Regions from separate parts of the Homo sapiens genome. Here all the other regions are linked to region 2. Evidence: promoter capture Hi-C in 16 types of primary human blood cells and fetal thymus (Javierre and others, 2016). All regions are on one chromosome and are shown on one strand. Each heading gives the region's core, a stretch centred on a gene start or on the middle of the fragment in contact. The rest is flanking DNA. Distances are from core to core; before and after follow the strand shown. Region 1 has its middle 8.7 kb from the start of LINC01114. Region 2 holds the start of SLC67A2 (solute carrier family 67 member 2). Region 3 has its middle 30 kb from the start of LINC01114. Region 4 overlaps MRPS9-AS2 (MRPS9 antisense RNA 2).

Evidence for each region. Contacts are between HindIII fragments. The CHiCAGO score rates a contact against its expected background, and 5 or more counts as called.
Region 1: a fragment that was not itself captured here is called in contact with the fragment with the promoter of SLC67A2 in region 2 in 2 of 17 cell types (M2 macrophages and M0 macrophages); the score reaches 8.0 in M2 macrophages.
Region 3: a fragment that was not itself captured here is called in contact with the fragment with the promoter of SLC67A2 in region 2 in 2 of 17 cell types (M2 macrophages and M0 macrophages); the score reaches 6.1 in M2 macrophages.
Region 4: a fragment that was not itself captured here is called in contact with the fragment with the promoter of SLC67A2 in region 2 in 1 of 17 cell types (total B cells); the score reaches 7.2 in total B cells.

The regions. Positions count from the first base shown.
Region 1 is chr2:104,765,036-104,767,735 of GRCh38, forward strand. No RefSeq gene overlaps it. Among named protein-coding and RNA genes, the nearest start is that of LINC01114, 8.7 kb to the left of the region's middle. The HindIII fragment of the contact is 3,791 bases long and covers 1-2,700 here.
Region 2 is chr2:102,735,340-102,738,206 of GRCh38, forward strand. SLC67A2 (solute carrier family 67 member 2) reads right to left here and starts at 1,549. Exons shown (of 6, transcript NM_032718.5): 1 at 1,307-1,549. The coding sequence starts at 1,471. It also overlaps a transcript of TMEM182 not described here. RefSeq lists a silencer at 1,456-1,665. The HindIII fragment of the contact is 937 bases long and covers 959-1,895 here.
Region 3 is chr2:104,786,802-104,789,502 of GRCh38, forward strand. No RefSeq gene overlaps it. Among named protein-coding and RNA genes, the nearest start is that of LINC01114, 30 kb to the left of the region's middle. The HindIII fragment of the contact is 4,017 bases long and covers 1-2,701 here.
Region 4 is chr2:104,966,325-104,969,136 of GRCh38, forward strand. The region is part of intron 1 of MRPS9-AS2 (MRPS9 antisense RNA 2); the gene reads right to left. Among named protein-coding and RNA genes, the nearest start is that of DALIR, 60 kb to the left of the region's middle. The HindIII fragment of the contact is 6,733 bases long and covers 1-2,812 here.

The sequences.
Region 1 (2,700 bases), core at 66-2,565, 2.0 Mb after region 2:
AACATTGACTGACATGTAGTATATGCTAACACTCCACTCTATGCTAGATTTACCGTCTCTGCTTTCAAAGAGTTCATAGTCTACGGCGAAAGTCAAACAAGAAAAACCTCTGTTGTATCTTTGTCATGGCACTTCCTGGCATCATTTCCCATGCACGTCTATCATCTTTCTCCTCACCTGGAATGTCAGCCTCAGGAGGGCAGGAACTGTGTCTGTGTGAGCAGGACCTACCAAAGAAGAGGCACTCAGTAAATATCTGTGGCTGTTGGAAAAAAAAAAAAGTGATATTTTAGATATGTAAATAGGATAAAATGGAAGCTCAAAAGGCAGATACCTTTCTCAGCATAGACTGTGGTGGAAGGCGGGTTGATGGGAAAGGTATCGAGGAGTTGATGAGGCTGGGAGCAGGGAGCCCCATGAGGGGATGTGCAGGAGGTTTCCCAAAGAACAAAGTCTGGAAGCACACAGCAGGTGTGAAGAATCATGGAGGAGTGGGCCATCTGGATGAGATTGGGAATGCTGAGGAAGTTTCACTGGAGCATAGGATGCTGTGGGGAATGGCAGGATCTGGGGCTAGATGGGCAGTGAGGCCTGAAGCAGCAGTCATCTTATACCCAGGTGGAGAAGCTGTTCTCTGTAATCGGTGTTGATTACCAATTGACTGAAACATTTAAATGCCAAATTATTAACTAGTGCGAGCATTTAAGAAAAAAGAGTCTGGGCACAGTGACTCATGTCTGTAATCCCAACACTTTCGGAGGCCAAGGCGGGAGGATCACTCGAGCCCAGGAGTTCGAGACCAGCCTGAACAACATAGTGAGACCATTCCCACCTCTACAAAAAAAAAAAAAAAAAAAAAAAAAAAGCAAGAAAATTAACCAGTCATGGTGGCACAGGGCACACACCTGTAGTCCCAGCTATTCAGGAGGCTGAGGCCGGAGGATCAATTGAGCCCAGAAAGTGGACACTGCAGTGAGTTGTGATTATGCCATTGCATTCCAGCCTGAGTGACAGAGCAAGACTCTGTCTCAAAAAAAAAAAAAAAAAAAAACTGTCCACCTTTGACAGAAATCTGAATCCCTCTTTTATAATAAACCTCTAATGCTCTCCACTGACATAGGACTTAGTTTGAGGGTACAGCCAAGACATCATCCACTTTCCCAAAGAAAGCACTTGGTCACTAATCATGGTCACTAATCATACACATCAGCTGTAGCTGTTTTTGTTCCATTATCTAAATATTTAAAGAGAAACCAGCATTTTGGTCTCAATTATCTGAATAATTCCACAACTCACCATTTGTTTTTAGTAGAGATTCAAGGTTAAAATAATAATAATAGGTATCTTTAAGACTCAACATTATTTATATGAAAGTCTATTTTTAAACAACATCCAAATTATTTGCCTCTGTTTTTCACCCATGTAAGAAAATATTTGATACATCAAGAATGAATAAAAGACCATCACATGGGCTGTTCTTTTTTTTTTTTTTTTTTTTGGATTGCTCATTGTTGTTGTTTCATGGATTTTTCTGTTTTATTAGGAAAAAACAATTAAATGGAGCACATATGCAGATCCAATCACTGCCTCCCTGCTGCAGGTGGAGGTCGTGAGTAAGTGGTGGCAGGCTACTTCTGATTTCATTATGAATTCCTCTCATGTGGACACAGGCTTCAGCCGGGGATGACAAGGATTTTTGAACTTCAAAAAAAAAAAAAAAGAGGAATCATAATAAATATTTTACTGTCTAGTCAACCCAATTTATGAAGCCTGATTATCTAGCTCAGCCTCCGGAGATTGCTACCGGAAATCTCCCCAGATGTTCCCCCTTCTAACCCAACTCTCCACTGTCTGGCAGGAAGGCAGCCGGGCATCTGCATTCCGGAAGCCCAGCTGCTTGGGAAGAGAGAGGGAGCGGCCTGCACGTCACTCAACAGCCCTGCCTGCTAACCAGTTAACCAGTTCTCAGTTGGGTTCACGGACCCATGAGCGACCCAGCTTTCTTCCCCTCAGGTTGATATTGTGCTCCAAGCTGGGGATGCCCGGGGACTATGTGGAGGGAGAGTGCCTGAGGCAGCAGGGAGCTGATCACCCTCACTTCCCAAGTCAACGGGTATCCTGAAATAGTGCTGTTTGAACAACATTGGGCAAGAACATGAAGAGTGCTTCTGGGGTTCTTTGTATAGGCCCAGACACGCTCATTTCTGTTTCTAAATTACACAGCCCCAAGATTTTCAGGAACGATGGGATTCTGTATACTTGTGTTATTTGTTGTTGGTGTAACTTTGAAAATTTAGCTTATAGTATAAATGTCATTATATTATATAAAATATATAGCATAATTATTTTTATATGGGCACTTTTTCTTCCTTTTTTGGAACACACCTGTATATTTTAGTTTGCCCTTTCACCATCTAGTCCTTGGCTGTGATCCCCGTGGCTATACTACAGTATACACTAGGGCCATGAGGAACTTGGACCTAATGTGAAATTCAACAGAACCTATCACCCTTAGGAGGAATCATCTAATCACAAATAGCCCTTGGGAGTCAGACCAACCAAACTAGGATTCTTGAAAGAGTTGTTCCAGAAAAATTCTTGTTTGGGTTTTTTCAAGCCACAAAGCCAAAAGTTTGAAGGTGAATTTGATATGCTTATTGCCTGGCTGCATAAAATAAGTACACAATGAGCTTGTGACAA
Region 2 (2,867 bases), core at 299-2,798:
ATCTTAACTATTAACTCAACATAGAGTTGCTACCAACTGAACGCCTTGCATGGAGGTGGTGGCATGGAGAGTGCATGAAACTGGGAGAAGTGGTGGTCTTGATCTGCATCTGGGCAGAAAACGATGACTCCCTGCCAGGGCCCAGTGCCATCAGATACTATCTTCAAGGCCTCAAAGGCAGCCTTCTCCCATTGACACTTATCGCAGCTTCCTTACCCTCAAGATACTGGATTAGCTCACACTCAGGGCTGAATCAGGCCTAGCCTTGGAAAGGGAGGAGTGCAGAGGTGGATCTAGGGTTCTTGCAGATAATGGCCCAGAAACTACCAACATCAGCTTACTTGTAAGACTGAATTCTTCTGTGGCAGAACTGTGGATTACAATAGTGAAGCTCCGCAGCACCTGCCACATGGCAGGTGTTCAGAAATGCCATGAATCAGCTTACTAAACTTTCCATTCTACGTGGGAAATTAGCACTCAGGGAGCAAACCAGGACACGCGCGCGCGCACACACACACACACACACACACGATGAAACCAAACCGCCATTGTGCAATGCACACCCTTTGTCCAAAGGTAGATGGGTACAATTCACTCTGATCTGCATTTTTAAACATTCAAGTCAACCGAGAGCTCTAGTGAAAATGCACCCAATTCTGTACAAGTGGGGTCATCAACAGCGGCTTCTCCAGCCTGGTCTGGTAAAAAAGCAAACCACAGGCACACACATCATGATGAAACCAAACCTACGCTGTGCAATGCGCAGTTTGTCGAAAGGCAGATGGGTAAAATTCACTCTGATCTGCATTTTTTAATATTTAAGTCAACCAAGAATCCTAGTGAAAATGTGCCTAAATCTGTCCAAGCGGGGTCAAGAGCGGCCTCCCCTGCCTGTTCTGGTAAAAAGGCTTGCGTGTCCCTACCTCACCAGCAGCCGCACAGCAGCTGGGCTTTTCCAAGCTTGCCCACACCCCTGTTCTCCGCCCTGCAAAAGCTGCACCTGCCACAGCATTTAACACCTGGTCACACCTGAGGTTGGTACCAGGGCTTCTCAAAAGGCAGGGAAGGGAAGACGTTCCGCGAACGGGGTGCAAGAGAAAGCGCGAGGGGCAATAAAGCAGTGTGGCCAGATGCAGACTGAAGTGGGTGATAGGGCAAGAGGAGAGCTTGATAGGTAGTGAGGCACTCACCAGGCGGACTGCGGGTTCCCACTCCCTGGGAGCTCCCCGGAAGCTCCAAGAACCGCCTGGGTCCCCAGGCCCGAACACAGTCAGCACTTGCTCCCAGCCCCCACGCTCGCACTCACCAAGAAGCCCACCAAGTAGAGACAGAGCAGGAAGCGGCGGGCTCCGACGGCACCGGAGTCGGCAGCCTCCGCCTCGGTTCCTGTCTTCTGCTCCTGTTTCCGCTCTGCGGTCTCCGAGACCAGCCTCGGGGCCGAGTTCATGTCCCAGTGACCCCCAAGCTCCATACCCGCGCCGGCCGGGGGTCGGACGCAGCAGCAGCCGCGGACCTACCCCGGGAGCCCAGCCCCGCCCCGAGCGGAAGCAGGAGGCGCGCGCCTGCGCAGAGAGAGGGGGCGGGTGCTACCTGGCAGCTCCGCGGGTGCGTGGCCGGTGCTGGCTGGGAGTTCTGGTCTCAGGCAAGGTGGGGACTGGGCACATCATCAATACGGTAAGCACACACCAGTTTGTGATGATAATGATGATGCTCTTTGTTTCCTCTGGGTACAGACCCTGCTGCCCCTATCGTTGGAGGACAGGAGGGAATTGTATTGAGCTTCACTTCCTCCTATGGAGTTGTGCTAGGAGGTGACCAACTCCAGCTTGAAGATCCACAGACCCTGGCCACCAGTTGGTTGTGACAGACCTAGGATACGTTAACGTGGCTCTCCAAGCTTTCGTTTGCCTATTTAAAAAGCAGTAGGAAATAATGTAGTCCAACTTCTAGAGGTGTGAGAATTCTACACATGCTTCTTAAGATCCTTTCTGGTGCAGTGCAATGTGAACAAACCATAGATGGTCTATGCCTGAGTTGAGATTACAGTCTCATGGAGTAAAAATAATAAGCACGCAGTAAATAAACATAAATAAAAATACTAAACATGCAATGAAAAAGCATAAAATAAGTAAAATAATATGGTGATAATATAAAGAAGCACGGTCTTGATGTGGAAAGTAATGAGGTGGGGAGTGAGCTACTTTAGAAAAGCAGTTTGGAGGAGGTGACATGTAAGCTGAGAAGAGTGGAAAGAAGATATGTGTGGCTGAAACTTCCTCATCAAACTGAGAGGTCAGCAGGAGTGCAGACCATTTAGGACCCAGAAGGCCATAACAGAGATTTGGGGTTTATTCTGAGTGCAGTGAAAGGAATTAAGTGAGTGCATGACACCAAAAGATGCCTTTAAATTACTTAGCAAAGCCCATGACACATGGTAAGTAATAAATGTTAACAATAGTGACTAGCCCCTCTTTTCTTTAGAACTTGTTATTTATTCCTCTTTCACTGTGGGATCAAGAAGACTCTGACATTTTACTGAGATTTTGCTCAAAATCTCAATTTACTTGTGTAGGTTGCTAATTCTGAGATCTGTTAAATTCAGTGTTGCAAAGTTTCTCATGGGAGGTGGCACTGAATAGGGAGAAGTGGAATACTGATACTTAGAATTAAGACATATAATTGAATCCAGGTGAAACTGTCAATCGTGAACCCCCAAGTTATTCTGAGACTCCTTTGCAGGAGAACTAGTTTGCTCTCCTATAGCTGAGGAAACTAGTCTTTTTGTGCTTGAAATTTTGTGAGTAACTCATCTGGGAAAGGCGCCTTGAAAGGGCTGCTCATGTTAACCCATTAAAACCACTCACTGT
Region 3 (2,701 bases), core at 174-2,673, 2.1 Mb after region 2:
ATGTTCTTTCCAATTCAGAGAGAGAGAGAGAGAGAGAGAGAGAGAGAGAGAAAGGAGCCAAATTGCCAGAGGATAGAAACACTTTGTTTCTACTTGAACTCTCATAAAAGGCTTCTGAATGAGGTTTTTGACATTGGAACGGAGGGTATTTTTATGATGGATATTTTAACCTTTTCCTCAAAAGCTGAGATTTTGCAATCACAACCCACTGTTTCCCAATGATGATGACTTAAGGAGAAGTAGCATTTCTCAGCCCCACAACCTGATGTTTCCACTGAAGCCAAAGGGGTTAAGGATTTGTTACTTGATCTAATGGCAACGACTTTCCAATAGACATGCACAGAATCATTGATCAATGTGCCCTCTCCTTGTTTGCACTGGAACACTGTTCAATTTACACCAATTAAAGAATGCTTGGTTTGGGTATTGAAGAATAATTAAGAGAGGCAAATCCCCAAGGGCTTCTAAAAATGACATCTGACTAGAATGGTGATTATGGCATGAAGGCGGCATTAGTTTTAAATAGTTTGACTGATATACAAAATCATTACAACGTCTCTCCAGGAAGAGTGACATTAGGTCAATGTATGTACTTGCCTGGTCACCCTAAACAAATTTGACAAGTCTAATTTTAAGTAATTGCTCAGAGTTTAGTGGCAGCCTCTGTCCCCACAAGGGCAGCTGTCCAGACCACATCATGTAATTGAGACGTGTCTTTAAACTATATGTGTCACTCCAACATGCGAATGTGCTCTCACAAAAATGTTAAGGGTTAGTGACACTCCAGTGAATTATTTTCCAGTCGAGTTTCAACTTTACTGTAGCTTTTTGAACTTTACTATAGCTATATGAAAACTTTACTGTAGCTATTTGTTAACTTATCAACAAATTCTACCTCATCCCCCTATAGGAAAGATTGGGTTTTCTAGCTAGATCGAGCTCTAGAGTTCATCCAGGAATCATTTCAAGGTGTGATCCCTGGACCAGCAGCCTCGGCAGTACTTGGGCAGTGGGTAGAAAGGCAAATTCCCTGGCCCCACCCCAGGCCTGCTGAATCAGCAGTTCTGCAGATGAGGTCCCACAGTGATGCTTTAAAAAGTGCTCCCAGTAACTCTGAAGCCCACAGATTCACTATCTGGGTGATTAAATGGATGCCCAAAAGTTTAGGTAATTTGCCTGAACCATGCAGCTCACTTGAGAGTGGAGGCTGGGGCTGATCATGTCGTGTTCAAAATGTTTAATTCCTGAACCTTGGTCCAACTTTTATCTGAAATGCTCATCTTAGATTTGTATTGCAATAAAACTCCAGCCAACTAAGTACGACTGATTTTTATTATTCAGTTAAAGTCTTGAAAATATTTTGCTCGTCTGTTTCTTATTTAACTCCCTGGGTATCCCTGAGAAGGTGTGCAGCATCCGGACTGGTGGCTGGCTGGTTGTCTTCTTTCTCCTGGTCATCAGAGGCTGAGCCTGCGTGCAGGTGTAGTCATTGGATTAGTTGTAAGAGGAAGTATCTCCAGAGCCAGCGATTTGATGACCAGTGTGAGAGCCTCAAGAGGCCCCCTCTTCAGTCCTTGGAGATCTCTATGCATATGTAGAGAGTGGTCCTCCCTTGCTCCAAGGGGCTCCTGCACGACACTGATGAGCAGGGCCCCTGCTGCCCCTTACTGGACATAGAGTGAGAGTGACAGACTTTGGTATATGAAGCCACTGATATTTGGGGAATGTTTGTTACCACTTTACAACCTGGCACATCACAGGATCCTTTGGGACCTCTAGACCATCCCTTTGCACCATTAAAAGTAGGCAATGGGTAGGACAGAAGGTAGGTGGGAAAAAAAACACTTCCCTATGTAGAATACAACTGAAGAGAATGGTATTTCCAAGAGGACAGAAGAAAGTGAACTAAATTTGAGTTACTAACCAAAAGACTTCTAATTTAATTTTCTTTTTTTCATCATCACTGTATCTTTTGCCACCTACCCCAGCCTGACATTCCTTGAGCCACATAGAGCCCGTATTTACCTAACTACAAGTGAGTGAATCAAATCAAAACTGAAAAATAAGAGTGGTCTCATTTGCAGGCTGCACAAGTTCGCCGTTTCCAGTGCCCTGCCAAGCAGCTCAGCCATACAACTAAAGTGTATGAAAAAGGCTTCTTTCCTACTTGCCCAGGCTCCCAACAGATGGAGAAAGTCTATCTTAGATGCCTGTCCCCCTCCCTCTTCCTACTCTCCTTTTCTTCCTGAGCACCCTCACCACCCAGGTGAGCCTGTGGAACCAGCACACCCCCTCTCACCCCCTTTCCTCTCCATCTCTCTCCCTCCGTCCCTCTCTCGGCAGTGATGCTGAGTCGTTCAGCCATTTCATCCCTGGGCTCTCTGTGCAGGGCGAGGGGTAAAATGTGCCTCTGAATGGGGAGGAGTAGACAGAGTGGATTAATGGCAGCAACAGAAGAGTGATACAGCCGAGCAGAACAAAACGAGGGCGACCCGGACAAAACAAAGCGCCACAATAGATCATTTCTGAAAAGTCATCCGGGCAGCTTTGAAACCCAGGGTTGTGTGTTCCAGCGCAGTGTCACATCCACCGGCTTTCAAGAGACATGAATGGAAACGGAACAGTAACTCTTTTTCATGCCTCTTTTCAGGGGTCTTGTCAGCAGAGAAGGATTTACCATTCAATTCCCATACTTTTATGT
Region 4 (2,812 bases), core at 173-2,672, 2.2 Mb after region 2:
TACAGTACTGTGTGGAGAGAAGGAACTTTAGTGAGTGAGTGCCACAGATTTTCCTGCCTGGCTTTGATTCAGTTGGCTTCATGTTTTCCTGGAGTTCAGGAGCCTCTTAACTTGTTTCTGGATTTTTCACAAAGGCAGCTGGTGTGTGTGTTGTTGTGTCAGTGTCTCTGTAGAGGAAGGAGGGCCTGGGACTTCACATTCTGCCATATTATTCATGCCACTCTTTTGACCTGAATTATTTGAAAGCAAATCCCAGACATTGTATAATTTCATCCATAAACATTTCAGAATATATCCCTAAAAGAAAATTATTATTGGTATATGCAACAGAATTAACAAAAAGTCCTTAATATAACTATCAAATTTCCAACTACCATGAAAATTTTCCACTTTTTCCACGATTGTTTATTAAAACTTAGTTTATTCAAATCACACTCTAAACAAGGTCTTAATTGCACCTAGATGATATGTCCTTTAAGACTCTTGATCTTTTGGTTCCTCCTGCCTCTCTTTTTTTCTTATAATGTATCTACTGAAGAAATCAAATAGATTATTATGTAAAATTTCTCACATTCTGGATTTTTATTGCACTCCTATGATGTCTTTTAATGTGTTCCTCTGTCCCCTGTATTTTCTATAAACTGTTAGATTTAGAGGCTTGATGAGATTCAGGTTTATGTACTACCTATTATGTCACATCAGGAGATTGAACTATCTGACTACCCCTCTTTTTTGTGATGTTAAGTTTGATTAATAGGTCTAGGCATTGTCAGACAGATCTGTTCATTATAATGTTTCCCATCGGCTACTCATCTGATAGTTTAGCAGACATTAATAATCACTGGCTCCATTGATTGTTTTATTTGGGATTTTTAAATGGCAACATGCTACTCTACCATTCCTTGCAGAAGCACATTTCATAAGAACAAGGTAATATTCTATAAGCGTCCATCATCTCATATAAAATGGGGATGATAACACCTGCCTTACCTTACCTTATACCTTGGATGGATGCATAAAGCATTTGGTAAGCTGAAGTCACTATATAAATGTATGGTAGACACCATAGTTGATCCCCCAAGATGCATGCCGCTTCAGAGGGTGCACAGAAATCAATCATGCTAGTAACTGATCTGAGAATGGGCTTGTGACCCTACCCTCATGGCTGAGTCATGAGGGGATGCTCCTGAGAAGCTCCTGGGAAAAGGTCTTTTCTTGCTAAACAAAGCCATAGAAAGAGACAAATAACTTTTGTTTTCTCTGAATAATGCCATATCTGGAAATGTTACTACCAACCTTGCTACTACACCAAGGAGATACTCAACGACACTAGTAATCTGATGAATCAACTAACTCTAAAGCCCCTCATTTTAAGGAATCTCCTGTTATGAGAGAGAAAATATTCATTGCTGCTAGCTAGTTTGAGTTGGGGTTTCTGTTGCAATGGAAAACATTCTAATCAGTACAAAAAATCAAGAATGATAATGGTGGTAATGGTGATGAATATAGCATTATTTTAAAAACTACCAGGATAGATACTGATATTAGAGGTGTTCAGTAAAATTTGAACTGGTAAACATTTACTGTCAGTCAATCCTTCTTGTGTGTGTACTCTGTATAAAGCATTGCACAAAATGATGAAATTTTGCACAGAGAGCTCTCTAAGAACGAGCTATATATCACTTCTAATTTAAAGCTATCAGTTCTGATTTCTGTGCTGGGAAAAGGTACCAGTTCATAATCTTATGGTCTTTCCTGAGTTTGGTTTTCTCTTTTATGTGGGATAATCTAGAAATTTCTTTGTAGGGTAATAACATTTATGAGTGGAGGAAGCACTGAATTCACTCGCAACTCAGGAAAGTTTACATGACTTCCCAAAATTGTAAGTCCCCATACATGGATTGTAAGACACTGTCAAAAGCATTTTTAAAATGTACAGTGTCTTTCTTATTTGAGGAATATTTTTTGACACACAAAATAATGTGATGCATCCTAAAAACTACATTTAAATCCCAGCAATATCCTGTACGCATGCAATCTTACGTATTTGACGAAACAGCTCCTCATCTTAGATTTGAATAGAAAATTGCATATTTTGAAAAATGTAAGAGAATGAATCAGAAAGTCTTTAAGATAATTCTTAAACCTCTAAAATGCTACTGAGAGGTCTCACTGTTAAGAGCCAGGCTGGATATGGGGAGTGCTAGAAATTACTACCTAGCAGAAAATATTAAAATTCATCTCCTTGTCTGGGGAGGGGAATAGTAGAGACACAGCTCAAATCAAGAGAAAGAGATAAATCAGAAAAGGGCAGTAGATGTAAATGTAGAAAATGGAAAAGAAAGGTGGGAGCGGGAACCAGATCTCGGCTCCAGAGAATGTCAACCTGCAGGGTTGAGAAACAGGTGAAACATTAAAATAGACACTTGGAGTCTCTAGAAAAAAAATCAAACCAAAGACTATGCAAGGCACAGCACCCAAGATACATCAAGAGAGAAGAAAAGCCTTATGTGTGATGCAGGGAGACAGAGGCAAACAGGGCTAACAGGGTTACATAGACAGGGTCGGGGAAACCCAGCTAGGATGAGGAAGTGGCTCTATCATTGGTGTGGATTTTACTTTAAACCAATATGGTGATCCTGGGACACTTAAGGAAATGGCCTTACTTTCCAAAACCCTGGCACTGGGGTGACTTAGAGAAGGTAACGAGTGTAGGAATGGGTGAATCCTAGGATGAATCAAGACTCCCAAAGCATAAAGTCTGCAGACAGAAAGGTGCTGTCTTTCTATTTAAGATGGAATCAAGCCAGTT